3 separate regions of the Homo sapiens genome follow, and regions 1 and 2 are each linked to region 3. Evidence: promoter capture Hi-C in 16 types of primary human blood cells and fetal thymus (Javierre and others, 2016). All regions are on one chromosome and are shown on one strand. The core of a region is centred on a gene start or on the middle of the fragment in contact, and the rest is flanking DNA. Distances in the headings are between cores, read along the strand shown.

Evidence for each region. Contacts are between HindIII fragments. The CHiCAGO score rates a contact against its expected background, and 5 or more counts as called.
Region 1: a fragment that was not itself captured here is called in contact with the fragment with the promoter of WLS in region 3 in 1 of 17 cell types (monocytes); the score reaches 6.1 in monocytes.
Region 2: a contact is called between the fragment with the promoter of RPE65 here and the fragment with the promoter of WLS in region 3, in 3 of 17 cell types (monocytes, neutrophils and naive B cells). The highest score is 14.3, in monocytes.

What each region holds. Positions count from the first base shown.
Region 1 is chr1:68,430,222-68,432,921 of GRCh38, reverse strand. RPE65 (retinoid isomerohydrolase RPE65) reads left to right here. Exons shown (of 14, transcript NM_000329.3): 11 at 1,337-1,451; 12 at 1,546-1,640; 13 at 1,746-1,857. All of the region lies in intron 1 of LOC124904198 (a long non-coding RNA gene), which reads right to left. Among named protein-coding and RNA genes, the nearest start is that of RPE65, 18 kb to the left of the region's middle. The HindIII fragment of the contact is 4,785 bases long and covers 1-2,700 here.
Region 2 is chr1:68,448,704-68,451,403 of GRCh38, reverse strand. It overlaps RPE65 (retinoid isomerohydrolase RPE65), which reads left to right and starts at 1,450. Exons shown (of 14, transcript NM_000329.3): 1 at 1,450-1,509; 2 at 2,698-2,700. The coding sequence starts at 1,499. LOC124904198 (a long non-coding RNA gene) reads right to left here. Exons shown (of 2, transcript XR_007066164.1): 2 at 1-2,700. The HindIII fragment of the contact is 10,150 bases long and covers 1-2,700 here.
Region 3 is chr1:68,231,163-68,233,862 of GRCh38, reverse strand. It overlaps WLS (Wnt ligand secretion mediator), which reads left to right and starts at 1,340. Exons shown (of 12, transcript NM_024911.7): 1 at 1,340-1,669. The coding sequence starts at 1,564. The HindIII fragment of the contact is 11,043 bases long and covers 1-2,700 here.

The DNA.
Region 1 (2,700 bases), core at 181-2,680, 200 kb before region 3:
GGAAATCTTCTTGACTCTGTCCTCCACTTCTTCCACTTCTCACTGACTGCAATGCTACTGGCCTAGTGTGAACCATTGTTTTCTTTCAACTAGACTACTACAAGACAAACTGGTTTCCCTGATTCCACTCTTGGATCCTCCCTACTAACAAGGCTACCCTAAAAATAAATCATAGCATCTCACTCCTGTGCTGAAAACCCTCCAATGGCTTCCCATCACTCACTCACAGAGAAAGATCAAGTCCTCATAATGACCTACGAGGCTTTGTACAGCCTGGCTCGTGACCTCCCCACCTTCCTTTCTTATTCTCTCCCCTAGCTCAGTTGATAGAATCCACACTGGACTCTTTGATGCTCCTCAAACACACTCAGCATCCTCCTCCCTCAGGCCTTTGCACAATTTGTTCTCTTAGCGTGAACACTCTTCCCCAGATATCTGCATTGCTAATTCTCTCATCTTCTAAGAGTTTTGTCTCCTCTGCCACCTGTTCAAAGAGACCTACCCGAACCATCTATTCAAATTTTAACCGCTTACCCTTCACGTTTCTGATCTTTTTTCCTCTATTCTATTTTTCCCCCACATTTGTGGTATATTATAAAATTTATTAATTATATTTATTGTATATCTCCTTGAACTAGAATGTAGGCTTCATGAGGACAGGGACTTCACTCTCCAAAACATCCTGAATGCCAAGAATAGAGTCTAGAATAAAATATGTAATCAAGTATTTGATGAAATTATTAATAAGTAGATATGTTAGAAAAATCTCATGGTATTTCATAAAATAATCAGAAAAATCATGTGTGTGTGACAAGAGATCTTAGGAAACATATGGTCCAGCGTTTTTTTTTTTTCTTTTTGTCAACATAACTGTAAGGATTTTTTTTTTCAAGCAAAATCAAAACATATTCTACGTGTGAACGAAATATACATTCTTTCATCCCTCAGGCAGTCGAAGTCTTTGTTGTTCTGCAGAAAAACATTAATTATTATTATTATTGGTTTTGAGATTTTTGTTTGGTTTTTGTTTTTTTGTTTTTCAGAGGCCTTTCTTTGGAGCCCTAAATTTTCTTCAAGGATGGTCTCATTTTACTGAAGAGAAAATTGATGGCCTAAGAGGTTATGTGACTTTCCCAGTGATACATAGCCAGTGACTGACACAGGCACAGATAGCTTGCCCAGTCGCGTCCCAGGGTCCCTCATCTATAGCTTCCTGCAGTTCCTCCCTGCATGTTGACCTAAAAAAGAACTTAGGAGCCAAGACTTAAGAACTCTGCATTTCTGGCTGTTTGAATTCTTTCCTGCTCACTGAGGTTTCTGTTATCTTCTCTCCTAGGCTGACACAGGCAAGAATTTAGTCACGCTCCCCAATACAACTGCCACTGCAATTCTGTGCAGTGACGAGACTATCTGGCTGGAGCCTGAAGTTCTCTTTTCAGGGCCTCGTCAAGGTGAGATGATCTAGAGAAAACTTCACACGGGAGTGAACAAATGTTTCTTTCAAAGAGATTAAGAGTTTTCCTAAGCATGTGCTCTATTTCGTAGCATTTGAGTTTCCTCAAATCAATTACCAGAAGTATTGTGGGAAACCTTACACATATGCGTATGGACTTGGCTTGAATCACTTTGTTCCAGATAGGGTAATTAATCCTTCTTACTAATATTTGAACAGTGCTTTGAGTATATGCTAGTCAAGTAAAGCATATTGACTGATTGCTTGATTGATTTTTCTTTCTCACAAACAGCTCTGTAAGCTGAATGTCAAAACTAAAGAAACTTGGGTTTGGCAAGAGCCTGATTCATACCCATCAGAACCCATCTTTGTTTCTCACCCAGATGCCTTGGAAGAAGATGATGGTAATGAAAGCAATTGTTGTGTCTGAATACTCTTCTTACTGCAGTTCTGTATGTTAGTTCGTTAGGAAAGGAGTAAGGTTGATTATTCCGTAATACTCAAAAACGATCCTTAATACTATAAATAGAGCAGTACTGAAGAATTAAAACTATTTGAAAAGAATTTTCATCTTTTGATCAGGTCTTGTTGATTACCAGTAGAAAAAAATGTCAAAGCACCATTTGGTGTCACGATGGAGCATCAATGTCTGCTCTAGATGAGGGAGAGAAGGAAGAAAAAATGGCAACATGAATTCCAGGTTTTTGCCTTCCCTGACGAAGACATATTTCTAAAAAAATAGCAATTCTAAGAAGGGAAGCTAAGTATTATAGCAGATACAAGAGAATGAGAAGGCAGGTCTGTGAATAGTTTTCATTTGTTCTTTCGGTAAGCTAGGGCTTGAAAAAAGACCCAGAGCCACACCAGCAACTCAGATACAGCAACTCAAATTACAAATCAGCAGTGTTAGTTAACTGCTTCTCAGCTGGGACAGGGAGATAGATTACACTCTATGGGATTAAAATATGGAAAACTAAGAGAAATGAGATAAAGAATTGTGGAGCCATTTCACACTAAATGATTTTATATATCCAGTCGAAGCTGTAAAAGATTTGTTCTCATTTTGTTCGAAGGAAGTCAGCTTCCAGATCGATCTTAGAAACCATACATATGATATATCTTACTGCTTTCAAAGTCTTTTAATACACACTTTTCATGTGATCATCACAGTTTTTACAGTATGTACAGCAGGTGCTATATTTGTATGTTACAGATAAGAACAGATCCATTTATTCAGTGAGTATTTA
Region 2 (2,700 bases), core at 201-2,700, 220 kb before region 3:
CTTTGAGGAGAAGTTTCTTATTTGAAATATTTTGGAAACAGGTCTTTTAATGTGGAAAGATAGATATTAATCTCCTCTTCTATTACTCTCCAAGATCCAACAAAAGTGATTATACCCCCCAAAATATGATGGTAGTATCTTATACTACCATCATTTTATAGGCATAGGGCTCTTAGCTGCAAATAATGGAACTAACTCTAATAAAGCAGAACGCAAATATTGTAAATATTAGAGAGCTAACAATCTCTGGGATGGCTAAAGGATGGAGCTTGGAGGCTACCCAGCCAGTAACAATATTCCGGGCTCCACTGTTGAATGGAGACACTACAACTGCCTTGGATGGGCAGAGATATTATGGATGCTAAGCCCCAGGTGCTACCATTAGGACTTCTACCACTGTCCCTAACGGGTGGAGCCCATCACATGCCTATGCCCTCACTGTAAGGAAATGAAGCTACTGTTGTATATCTTGGGAAGCACTTGGATTAATTGTTATACAGTTTTGTTGAAGAAGACCCCTAGGGTAAGTAGCCATAACTGCACACTAAATTTAAAATTGTTAATGAGTTTCTCAAAAAAAATGTTAAGGTTGTTAGCTGGTATAGTATATATCTTGCCTGTTTTCCAAGGACTTCTTTGGGCAGTACCTTGTCTGTGCTGGCAAGCAACTGAGACTTAATGAAAGAGTATTGGAGATATGAATGAATTGATGCTGTATACTCTCAGAGTGCCAAACATATACCAATGGACAAGAAGGTGAGGCAGAGAGCAGACAGGCATTAGTGACAAGCAAAGATATGCAGAATTTCATTCTCAGCAAATCAAAAGTCCTCAACCTGGTTGGAAGAATATTGGCACTGAATGGTATCAATAAGGTTGCTAGAGAGGGTTAGAGGTGCACAATGTGCTTCCATAACATTTTATACTTCTCCAATCTTAGCACTAATCAAACATGGTTGAATACTTTGTTTACTATAACTCTTACAGAGTTATAAGATCTGTGAAGACAGGGACAGGGACAATACCCATCTCTGTCTGGTTCATAGGTGGTATGTAATAGATATTTTTAAAAATAAGTGAGTTAATGAATGAGGGTGAGAATGAAGGCACAGAGGTATTAGGGGGAGGTGGGCCCCAGAGAATGGTGCCAAGGTCCAGTGGGGTGACTGGGATCAGCTCAGGCCTGACGCTGGCCACTCCCACCTAGCTCCTTTCTTTCTAATCTGTTCTCATTCTCCTTGGGAAGGATTGAGGTCTCTGGAAAACAGCCAAACAACTGTTATGGGAACAGCAAGCCCAAATAAAGCCAAGCATCAGGGGGATCTGAGAGCTGAAAGCAACTTCTGTTCCCCCTCCCTCAGCTGAAGGGGTGGGGAAGGGCTCCCAAAGCCATAACTCCTTTTAAGGGATTTAGAAGGCATAAAAAGGCCCCTGGCTGAGAACTTCCTTCTTCATTCTGCAGTTGGTGCCAGAACTCTGGATCCTGAACTGGAAGAAAATGTCTATCCAGTAAGTATCTCTGGGAGACTTTTTTAAAACACCTTCATGGATTCATGATAAATGTGCTATTTCAAGGGCTCCTGAAGAGAAGGCATTGATTAATGACCTGTTTAGGAAAGACCCTTGAATTTTGGTGGGGAAATTTTTTCCTGCTTATGTATTAAAGCAACTAGCTAGAATTCAGGTCCAAATTATGGGGGGTTTGTGTGACTTAGCCCGGGGTTTGGAAGCAGTCTTGAGTATGGGGATTTCAGACAGACTTGGGCTCCACTCCTTGCCCAGTCATTTCCTAGTGTGTGACTTTGGACAAATTACCTAACTTTTTAAGTCTAGCTTTTCCTGTATATAGAAAGATGTCACAATAGCTTTTACTCCATTATGTTACTGTGAGATTTAAAAGAGATAATACCATGCAAAGTTCTTTTTATGGTATGTAGGACATAGTAATTGTTTAGTAAAAGGTAATTATTATAATTGAGTCTGGTCAGAGATTCCACTCTTTGAAGTTACAACATGAAACTGAACAGAGGATGTAGAAAGTAAACAAAAATATAGAACCTGAATCTCCTGGTCTGACTATGATGAAAAAGTACTGTAGGTCTTGGGGATTGGTAGAGAAATGAGATGATGGGGAAAAAATTATGGTATAATATGAGTGAATAATGAAAGATGAGGTACCTGACCCAAAAAGCTGTCATCTCTCAACCCCTAGGAAGGAGATAAATGGGTCTCTCCTTGAGGCAAGAAAATCAATGATGCTGTGAGCTGAGCATGTTGATAGGGTGGGAGAATACTGTGGGAAGGACCCTGTTTAGGAACAAATTTCAGGAAGTGAACTGATGGCAGTAGGATTGATTGATTTGTCTTCCGAAGTAAGGAAAAACTGCAGAGGACAGGATTAAGTTCACTGTAACCATTGACATTAAAAGAGAGGTCATGTCTCTTGACATCAGAGCAGTGATCTGGGACCCCCTTCCATACCTGAGTAGTCTTCCCCACCCCCAGCCTCACGTGCTCCTCCCGCCCTCACCTTCGCTTCTCCCCCCACCCCCACCCCCACCCAGCTGAGACTAGACCGGCAGGAGTGAACAGGCTTTGAGCCAGCCCTAGAGTGCCTTCTCTCCTGCAGCTCTGCCTCTATCTCTGCGGACTTTGAGCATCAACATGGGCTTCTTCCTTATTCTTCCACCATTTCAGGGT
Region 3 (2,700 bases), core at 91-2,590:
ACTGGGAAAAATAGTCTCTTGGCATGAAGAGGGTGTGTAAGGATGGGAGGGACAAGAAACAAGATGTGTGGGTGGTGGTGGTAGAAACTGCACGTTTGGGGAGCAGGGTGGGGTATTTACCAAACCAAGGGTCTATTGAGTAAGGTGAGTTGTACTGGCCAAGCGGCCAGTTTATGAAACATGGAAAAACCAGGCCCAGAAATTTAGGCTTGATAGAGCAGGAAATCTCTATCGGGAGCCCCGCCCCTCTTTTTATGGAAGTTAAGTATAAATATAAATATATGATTTCTCACAAAGAGACAACAAACATTGTAACTTAATATAGGTACCCTCTAAACCAACTAAGATCTCTTTAGACCTTTGAAATACAAACTGTGGGCTTGCTTTCACATTCACTTATTCATTCCACAAAAGATTATGGGGCACCTACTAGAGCTAGCATTTTGTTAGGCACCATGGGGGGTACAAAGAACAAAAAAAACTTGGTCCCTATTCCCCAGGAGTTTACAGCTCAGTGGTGGAGACAAACGTGTACACAAATCCTTACAATAGGAGGTAAAAATGTAAATACAGGATTGTAGGGGCTCAGTTCCCAGAGATACTGCATGGAGGTGGTGTGGAAAATTAGAAAGATTTTTTAACACTAGTTGGTTTTGGATCAGGTTTAACATTGATGGAGTAGAACATGTTCTCTTTAAGGCAATAACCAGGGTTAAGGCTGTGGAAGCACATGTGCTGGAGTAACGAACAGTGGTCTGATTTGGCTGGAGAGCAAGTTTCCTCAAGGGGCGCCGTGGGGAATTTAGCTGGGTATGTGCCCAATAACCGAGGCTGGGAATCTGGTAGAAAGAAGTCGAGCTGAGACTTTATTCCGCATCTCTGTGTTTTGACTTAGGCATCTATTGGGTCCTTTTAAAAAAAATTCTCCTCCTCTTTCCTAAAGAGAGTTCTAGCAGTTGGGGGTGGGGTGGGGACCATTTCCTAAAGTCAACGCGTAAGTTAAAGGTCTGCAAGGCGGTCCACCGGTGATTTAAATCTCGCACTTCGGAAACCAGAAAAGGAAACCTGTGAGAAGCTGGGCAGGGGGAACCCGCTTAACATCAACAGCAACCCCTAAATGGCATCAGACCTTGGAGAGACAGGTTGCAGGCCAGACTCGGGAGCCAGGCGCCAGCACCCGCCAGAGCTCTGAGCCCCGAACTGGTGGGCAAGGGGTAGAGGAAGAGAGGGAGGGAGGGAGGGAGGAAGCGCGAGAGGGAGGGAGGAAGAAAGGGAGGGAGGCGGCGTCATGTGATCCGCTTCCCTGCTCCTTTAAGCGTCCACAGGCGGCGGAGCGGCCACAATCACAGCTCCGGGCATTGGGGGAACCCGAGCCGGCTGCGCCGGGGGAATCCGTGCGGGCGCCTTCCGTCCCGGTCCCATCCTCGCCGCGCTCCAGCACCTCTGAAGTTTTGCAGCGCCCAGAAAGGAGGCGAGGAAGGAGGGAGTGTGTGAGAGGAGGGAGCAAAAAGCTCACCCTAAAACATTTATTTCAAGGAGAAAAGAAAAAGGGGGGGCGCAAAAATGGCTGGGGCAATTATAGAAAACATGAGCACCAAGAAGCTGTGCATTGTTGGTGGGATTCTGCTCGTGTTCCAAATCATCGCCTTTCTGGTGGGAGGCTTGATTGGTAAGTGCGGAGAGCTGCAAACTTTTCCCCCTTTCTGTCTTTTCGGGCCCCTTCCCTCTTTGCCTCTTGGGCTACTTGTTACAGTATCACTGCCTTGCTTCTATGATCTAATTAGTCCGGCTATTGTGCTTAAGAAAGCAGAGCTCCATGGGGCTCCGTGGGGCACAATCCAGTCTAGTGGCTAAGAGAAAAGGAGGGGAAAAAGTTTTGGCCTAGTTTCAGTATCCACTTGAAAGGCAAGAGGGGGGCGGCGGGGGTGGGAATCTTAAGCATGGCGACGGATCGCGCGAGGAAGCGCTGGGTTACAAAGTTGATTGCTCGCCCCCCCCCCCCCCCGCTTTTTCCCGCGTTCCCCCCCTTTTCCTCTCGGTTCCCTTCCAATCAGCTCCGGGAGGGCAACGTAATCGACTTTATTAGGAACAACAGAAGAGTCGGGGAACTGTGCCCGGCGCAAACCCGGAGCTCTGTTACAAGGCTGAGATACTTGCACGGTTGTAAATGCATTTGGTCGTCTTTGCTAGGGGCTGAGGGTTTGCAATTTGGGGTCCCGACCTTCGCGCCCTCTGCTTTCCCGCCGCACTCCACCCCACGCTCTGCCGTGGACAGGTCCGAATTGTCGGCCGGGAGGTTGGGTGGGATGGGGTGGGGTGGGAGGGAGTCCTTGACCAGCGCCGCGGGAAGTTGGAGAGGTCGGAGGGGAAAAGCGTATCCGAAAGGTGTTGCTTTTGGCCTCCTGCCCACTCGTGAATATCCCTTCCCCCACTACTTAGAGCCCCGAGAGCCGGTGACTGTGAATGTCCCCGTCCTCTTTTGGCGCTTAGGAGAGCGCCCTCAGCTCCCACCACAGCCCCCCGCAGGTGACAGCTCGCCGGCCTCCTCGGCGACAGCGCCCGCCCCGGGAGACCTCCCCTGGCGTGCACCTCCCGGACCTCTCTGAGTCAAACAGGCTTCCGGGTGAAGAAAACCGCCTCACGGACCGTCCACTCGGAAAAACTCCCTTCCCCTCACTGTCTCCCCATCTGCATCCATCC